Regions from separate parts of the Homo sapiens genome. Here region 2 is linked to region 1. Evidence: promoter capture Hi-C in human tissues and cell types (Jung and others, 2019). All regions are on one chromosome and are shown on one strand. Each heading gives the region's core, a stretch centred on a gene start or on the middle of the fragment in contact. The rest is flanking DNA. Distances are from core to core; before and after follow the strand shown. Region 1 holds the start of OR6C3 (olfactory receptor family 6 subfamily C member 3). Region 2 has its middle 6.3 kb from the start of OR6C6.

The links. The method cuts DNA at HindIII sites, captures the fragments that hold promoters and counts their contacts. A contact is called where the count stands out against the background at its distance.
Region 2: a fragment that was not itself captured here is called in contact with the fragment with the promoter of OR6C3 in region 1 in 9 of the 25 tissues and cell types used here (H1 embryonic stem cells, adrenal gland, heart left ventricle and 6 more).

Annotation. Positions count from the first base shown.
Region 1 is chr12:55,328,395-55,332,347 of GRCh38, forward strand. It overlaps OR6C3 (olfactory receptor family 6 subfamily C member 3), which reads left to right and starts at 2,352. Exons shown (of 2, transcript NM_001388498.1): 1 at 2,352-2,413; 2 at 3,263-3,953. The coding sequence starts at 3,307. The HindIII fragment of the contact is 15,026 bases long and covers 1-3,953 here.
Region 2 is chr12:55,288,389-55,292,181 of GRCh38, forward strand. No RefSeq gene overlaps it. Among named protein-coding and RNA genes, the nearest start is that of OR6C6, 6.3 kb to the right of the region's middle. The HindIII fragment of the contact is 6,606 bases long and covers 1-3,793 here.

The DNA.
Region 1 (3,953 bases), core at 1,102-3,601:
GACCTGCCTGGCCAATGTGGTGAGACCCAGTCTCTACAACAAATGCAAAAATTAGCCGGGCACCGTGGTGCATGCCTGTAGTCCCAGCTACTCAGGAGGCTGAGGCAGGAGAATCGCTTGAATCTGGGAGGCAGAGGTTGCAGTGGCATGATCTCAGGATCATCGCACTGCACTCCAGCCTGGGCGACAGTGAGACTGTCTCAAACAACAACAACAACAACAAAACACCTCTGATCCCCGAATCCTCGGGGAGACTAATTTGAGTAATAATAAAAGTGGGGTCTCCTGCACTGCCAGCTCTGCATGAATTACAGGATTCATTCTTTCTCTATTGCAGTTCTCCTGTCTTGATAAATCGGCTCTGTCTAGGCAGCAGCAAGGTGAACCCATTGGGCGGTTACACCAATAGCTGCTAATTATTTTTTTAATCAATTAAACATGTATCTCTGTTGAAAGTATAAAATTCCTTTTTGGATTAGTTTTGAAAGGAAAAAAAAACCTAAACCTAAACCTCAATTAAGCCTTTACATCTAAATAGCAACAACAGGATATCAATATGACAAGGATGCAATCAAGCAAGGCATTATTGCACTTTTCCCTCCATGAATAATGATAGAATTTCCTGCTTATTAATTGAGCTGTTATAATGAAAACATAACATCATTTTTATAATAGCCAGAAAAGTGATCAACAAAAATTAAGTGATTAAGGGTAACACTCCCTATGATATGGAAACATATCTGCCAAAATGTTCCTTTATTAAATGCTCCTTTATAAGAGTAAAATACATCTTAAGTATATACTATTTTTGATTTCTAAATTATACCCCAATAAAGCTGGAAAAGAAAAAATAAAACATTATTTGATTGTATAAATTTATTGTATTTTTATACATTAAATACATATTTCATAATTTTATTAAAACATAATGCTTATTTTGTGTTAATCTGTATTATATAATATGCACTATTAGTTTAAATAAATTATATGTTAAATAAATGGCTTATCTGATTACACTTTTTTTTGCCAAAATATTTGGGAAACATAAAAAGAACACTAAAGAGAATAATTAGTTATAATTCACAAACCAGAATTTCACATAAATAAAATCATATTTTGTGGGTCTTTTTATTAGAATGTTGAAGGGATAACAGATGTAAAGGCCAAGATAAACAATAAGATGGACAAATTGACACTGCAATTAAATATTGCAATTTATAATGATAATTGAATTAGTTAACCTGATAGCATTTTTAAAAAACTTGTGAGCACAATACTTGCATTATGATAGTTATTCTTTACTTAGCATTATGAAATAACCTTTTGCTTCTTGATGCCCTAACACTTAACAAAGCCTAAGTATAAAAAACAAAAATGGGATATGTAGAAAACTTTTTTAATCTCAAAAAGATGCTTAAATATCAATTAGATTGAGCTTTAGTTTTGTAAGAAAATAGATGTCATAGCTATTTTTATTACTTATGAAATATTAAGTATGCATAATATATTAATTGCAGTTAATGGAAGTAAATATTCCACAGAAGACAATATTTGAGGTCCTCTGTGGGCTAAAAGATGAACCTAACTGCTCTCAAGGGAGATCGACTACAGATAAGAGTTAGGAGGCTACTGAGAAATCCAAAGGCGACTTCCAGAAATCTTTCATGGTCTATAATACAGCAGAGATGTGGCCTGGACTTTGCTTTGTTCCCAGGAGATCAAATCTTTTGAGGTCAAAACAAAGAAACTTGAAATATTGTAGATATAAGTATGACCAGGGGGAACCCAGATACCAGAATCTAACTCATAATATCCAATGTGTCATATATTTACCTATTTTCTCTTTAAATTTTTTTTTAACTTCTAGCTCAACATTATTGAAGAGGAATAAATTTTTTTTGAACTTCTAGTTCAACATTATTGAAGAGGAATATAATGTATTTCCACATCTTCCAAAGGTTTCTGGCATTCCATTTTTATTTCCTGAAATATATCCCTTAAACCATTATAAAATAGAGAAAAACATAAAATAAAATTTGATTAGTGTGAACTTTGGTAGTGTCCAGAAGAGAAGCAATAATTTTACATTCTATCCATCATAGCAGAAATTTGACAATCTAAAATATGGAGGAGACAACTATCAGGATTTTAGCAGACAACATCTATAGAATAGAACATCCAGCAGTTCTTGAATAGCTGAAAATTAACTGACTAGGTTAGAATGAATGTGAGAGGGTTTCCTATACAATTCTGGATATCCTTATGAATGAATGGTTGCATAAGGAAGAATGGTCTTATGTGGGACAAAATTTACTAGGAAATAAAACTTTTTCCGTAAAGCTCTGAAAGGAAGATGTTCAAATGGAAGATGCACTAAGCTATAATCCAAGTGAGAGAGTTGCTGAGATCTAAGGCAAGTAGTTACTTTTCCAATTTATGCTTCAGAGCAAAATGAAAAATAGATAAATATCACATGTTCCCTTAAGCTCAAAATTAAAATGTCTGTATGTAGAATATATATACACATTTCTTGTGAGTCATAGAAGACATCAAACATTAAAGATTTTGATGGAATTATAAGACAAACCAATAAGTAAGCGAACATGTTCCCTATTTGTTGAGTAAAATAATTACATTATTTACTCTATCTTATAGTAAATATACATCATATATAAGATGTTCTATTATCTTGACAATTAGACCAAAATATTAATATTAAAAATAAAATGAATAAATAAAATAACATTATTTTAATATAAATATATGTTTTATTTGCTAAAAATCTTTAATTGGTTTCTCATATCATAAAAAGAATAATGGGTTATTAACAATCTTCTAATTTTCACTTTTATCTTTTGATGAAGTTAAGAGCACCCATTTTATGTTTAGGTGGTAATATCCTTTAATGTATACATGATGAAAAAAAGAAAAATGTATGTTTCATGTGATTGTTTCAACAAAAAAGATAATGATATTTTGCATTAATGGGACACAAAGCAGGTATTATACATTTTATTAGCTGTTTCTCAGTGATGTGGCTTATTGTCTGAAGATATCCTAATTTCTGTTAGATTTAAAGTAAGAGAACTAGTAAATAGGCTGGACTTAGAAAAAAATATTAAAACATAATGCAAACAAGATAGTCAAAACTGTCAGACTGTAGAAGATTTTTAGAATTGTATTGATAATTATATGGATCATGATGAATTATATCTTTTATCTATTTTCCTTAATTATCATTCTACCAAAATATCTTTAAAAGAACAAAAAGGAGAGTGGAAGAAGGAGAGAGAGAAAGGACGAGACATGAACCACACAATGGTCACAGAGTTTGTCCTCCTGGGCCTTTCTGATGATCCTGACCTTCAGATTGTGATTTTTCTCTTTTTATTTATCACGTATATATTAAGTGTTACTGGAAACCTGACTATCATCACCCTAACCTTTGTGGACTCCCATCTGCAGACACCTATGTATTTCTTCCTCCGGAACTTCTCTTTCTTAGAAATCTCATTTACAACCGTATGCATCCCCAGATTTCTGGGGGCAATTATCACCAGGAATAAGACTATTTCCTATAACAACTGTGCAGCCCAACTCTTTTTCTTTATCTTCATGGGGGTGACTGAATTTTACATTTTAACTGCCATGTCCTATGACCGCTATGTTGCCATCTGCAAGCCCCTTCATTACACATCCATCATGAACAGGAAACTCTGCACTCTACTTGTGCTGTGTGCCTGGCTAAGTGGGTTTCTGACCATTTTCCCACCCCTTATGCTTCTCCTCCAGCTGGATTACTGTGCTTCCAACGTCATTGATCACTTTGCATGTGACTATTTTCCCCTCTTACAACTATCTTGTTCAGATACATGGCTCCTAGAAGTAATTGGTTTTTACTTTGCTTTGGTTACTTTGCTGTTCACTTTGGCATTAGTGATTTTATCTTACAT
Region 2 (3,793 bases), core at 206-2,705, 41 kb before region 1:
AATTCCCCTGCCTCAGCTTCTTGAGTAGCTGCGATCACAGGCGCAAGCCACCACGCCCGGCTAATTTTTTGTGTATATTTTTAGTAAAGACGGGGTTTCACCATGTTGGCCAGACTGGTCTCAAACTCCTGACCTCAGGCAATCCACCTGCCTCAGACTCCCAAAGTGCTGGGATTACAGGTGTGAGCCACGGGGCCCAGCCAGGCAGACTTTTTAACATTCTCTGTAGTTATACTTTAACTAATTTTAATAGTGAGACCCTTATAAATGAATACAATGTTTCAATGCAGGATTACTCTTTTAATCATCAAAACAATAATGTTGTTTTCAGGGGTAGTGGGGTGTGAAATACCTAAAGATGAAGCTTTCAGAAGAAATGGAAAATAGGACTCTAGGAGTAGAACATGGAAAAAAAAACATTTTTAATAATTTAAGAGTCTCGGAATCATTCAGTGATAATACTAGTAATCACAATTTTGGTAATAAATAAAAGTAGCTTGCAAATTTGGATATTAAATGAGAATTTCATATTGCTCATGAATTGCTATAAACGTTCAAAATATAAGGCATTGTATGCCATTCTAAAGACTGTCACCAACAACTGGAAGTAGATGCATTTATGTCATGCTTACAAAGAGCTGGAAGTATTGATCTTAAAACCAGAAACGAGAGGAGTGGGATAGAGAAAAGAAAAAATGTGGTTCGATTACCTTCCTGAAGCCAAGTTGAAATACCTACACAAAGAAATTGTTCTTTTCCTGGCTGGAAGCTTGCTGAATGATTGAATGTGCTGACCCACACTAGTGCTGCTCAAGGAGAAGACTGCATTATTTCCCATGATCAGAATTACTTAACATAAATTTGCTATGTAGAAAAGGAACTAGAATTGAGAAAAAGACTTTGAGATAAACCTTATATTAACCAGTGGTTTTAATGGCATTGTGTTGATAAGGAACAACTCTAGATTTGTTTTCATAACAATTTTATAAAACCATTGGGTCTTATATACAAAAAGCACATATTTATTATATGCAGTATTTATTCAGCAAAGTGATTCATTTTGAGTCAATACACATTTTAAAAGCTTTATTGAGGTGGTATGGAAGAAACTGCATAGATTTAAAGTATACAATATAAGCTTCGACACGTGTAAAATATTTTATATTTTCTTTCTTTCTTTTTTTTTTTTTTTTTGAGACAGAATCTCGCTCTGTTGCCCAGGCTAGAGTGCAGTGACACAATCTCAACGTGCATGAACTGCAACCTCCGCCTCCCAGGTTCAAGTGATTCTCCTGCCTCAGCCTCTGAAGTAGCTGGGATTACAGGCGTGCACTACCACACCCGGCTAATTTTTCTGTTTTTAGTAAAGACTGGGTTTGCCATGTTGCCCAGGCTGGTCTCAAACCCCTGGCCTCAAATGATCTACCCACCTTGGCCTCCCAAAGCGCTGGGATTACAGGTGTGAACCACAGTGCCCAGCCTTATTTTATATTTTCTAAGAATTATATAAAGCTGAAATCATCACTGCAAGTACAATATTGAACATATCCAGCACTACCAAAAGTTTCCTAATGCAACATTGTATCCCTGCTTACTATACCTCTGTCACTATACTTCAGGAATCACTTACCTGCTTTATGTCACTGTAGATTACATTTCTATTTACTATCACATTTTCTAGAATGTTATAGGAATAGAATAATGCAGTATTCTTTTTGACTAGGCTTCTTTCACCCAGCCTAATTATTTTGAGATTCGTCTGTACTACTGCCTATGTTAACAGTTTCTTTTTTTTTTTTTGAGACAGGATCTTGCTCTGTCACCCAGGCTGGAGTGCAGTGATGCAATCTCAGCTTACTGCAGCCTCCACCTCCCGGATTCAAGCTATTCTCATGGCTCAGCCTCCCAAGTAGCTGGTTGTCTTTCAACTAGTAAATTCTATCTGAGCATTTGCAAGGTCTAATCTAAATCAAAACTACCTCATGCATCATCAAGGATAGAGTGAGAGAATTACAGATCATCTGCTATTAATGCTTTCATTCTCAGCAATTTTGATTTTGTACAATAACCATTCCCTTTCAAAACAGATAATTTGTTATATGAAAAAAGTTATATTTGGAATCATTAGAAACATTACAACTGAATATTTAATTTTTTCTTAATTTTCAAGGTGCCTATTTGATTGAAACAGAACCATAAAAATACTTTATTAACTGTCATCTACATGCTTAAGATGGTATCATAGCTATCACTTCATAATTTGTTAGCAATGCATTATTAAAACTGAGTGGTAAAATAAAGGAATTGAACATAAACTAAGATTTGATATAGTACTGTGGTAAACAAGAATAGCTTTTGCCTGCTTTTGTCTACATACAGGAAACCAGAGAATGAATAAAGATGATAATAACATTCCTACGTCAATAAGAAATATAAATCAGTTCTGTTCATACATTTGAATGTCTTAGATATGTGATCATGACAATGATGACAATGATGACAATGACAAAAAAAGATGAAAATGGTGATGAAAATGACACAATTATGGTCCTGGGGATGAAAGTCTTACACCATTAACCAATTACATTATCTGAGGAAAGCTATCTGAGATCATGGGTCCTGAGTTTCCTCAGAGATAAATGAATACATGGAAGGATACTTTCAGACTGAAAATCAAGTGATACTACAATTTTATATTATGAAGATATAGTCTAGATTTTCAGAAAGTGGAGATGAGATTTGTATACAGAATGAGAAGAATTAATGTCTAAGTATTAGGTTGTTTCAGAACTCCTGAAAAAAATAAATCTCGTTTAGTTGGGATCAAATCTCTCTCTCTCTCTCTCCCTCTGTGTCTCTCTCACACTCTCTTCTCTTTCTCTCTCTCCTTATCTCTCCCCACACTGTTTTTATCCAGATGCATGAATATAATAAGATTAAAACTTGTGGGCAAATTGTTTATCTGAAGGACATGAAAGGATTATCTTAATTCAAAACCAAAATGCAATAGTCAGAATTGCTGTATGCTGTGGAGTAAAATGAACTTCCTTAAAATCATTTACTGTATATGTGGTTGGGAGTGAAAATAGAGAATTAAACCCAAACCCTCCCATTGAATTATACTCACAATCCAAAAGTTTATTAAAATATCTAATTTCTTTCTTGTAAATATCTTTGACTCTTTACCTGTATTCTAGTCCCACTGTCACATTTATACACTAAGATTTAAAATTTATAAATAGTTTAAAACAAAGGCCCCCTCACCTGCACCCTGATAATAAGACACCCCATATTCCATATCATTTCCAAGAGTAATCTCCCTAAAAACAAGAAGTTAACATTAAATTTTTCATCTTAAATACACTTTCAATGACTTCTGTCTAGTTGGAAATGTCAATGAGATTGTAGCCTTTACTTGACATTTAACATGCAGGTTATCTACAATAACCTGGGGTGCTTTTTTTTTTTTTTTTTTTGAGATGGGAGTCTCACTTTGTCACCCAGGCTGGAGTGCAGTGGTGTGATCTCAGCTCACTGCAACCTCCACCTCCCGGGTTCAAGCAATTATCTGCCTCAGCCTCCTGAGTAGCTGGGATTACAGGTGTCCACCACCAAGCCCAGCTAATTTTTTTGTATTTTTTAGTACAGACGGGATTTCACCATGTTGGCCAGGCTGGTCTTGAACTCCTGACCTCGTGATCCACCCACCTCAGCCTCCCAAAGTACTGGGATTACAAGTGTGAGCCACCGCACCCAGCCTCCTGGGGTGCATATTAAACATAGGCTACATTAA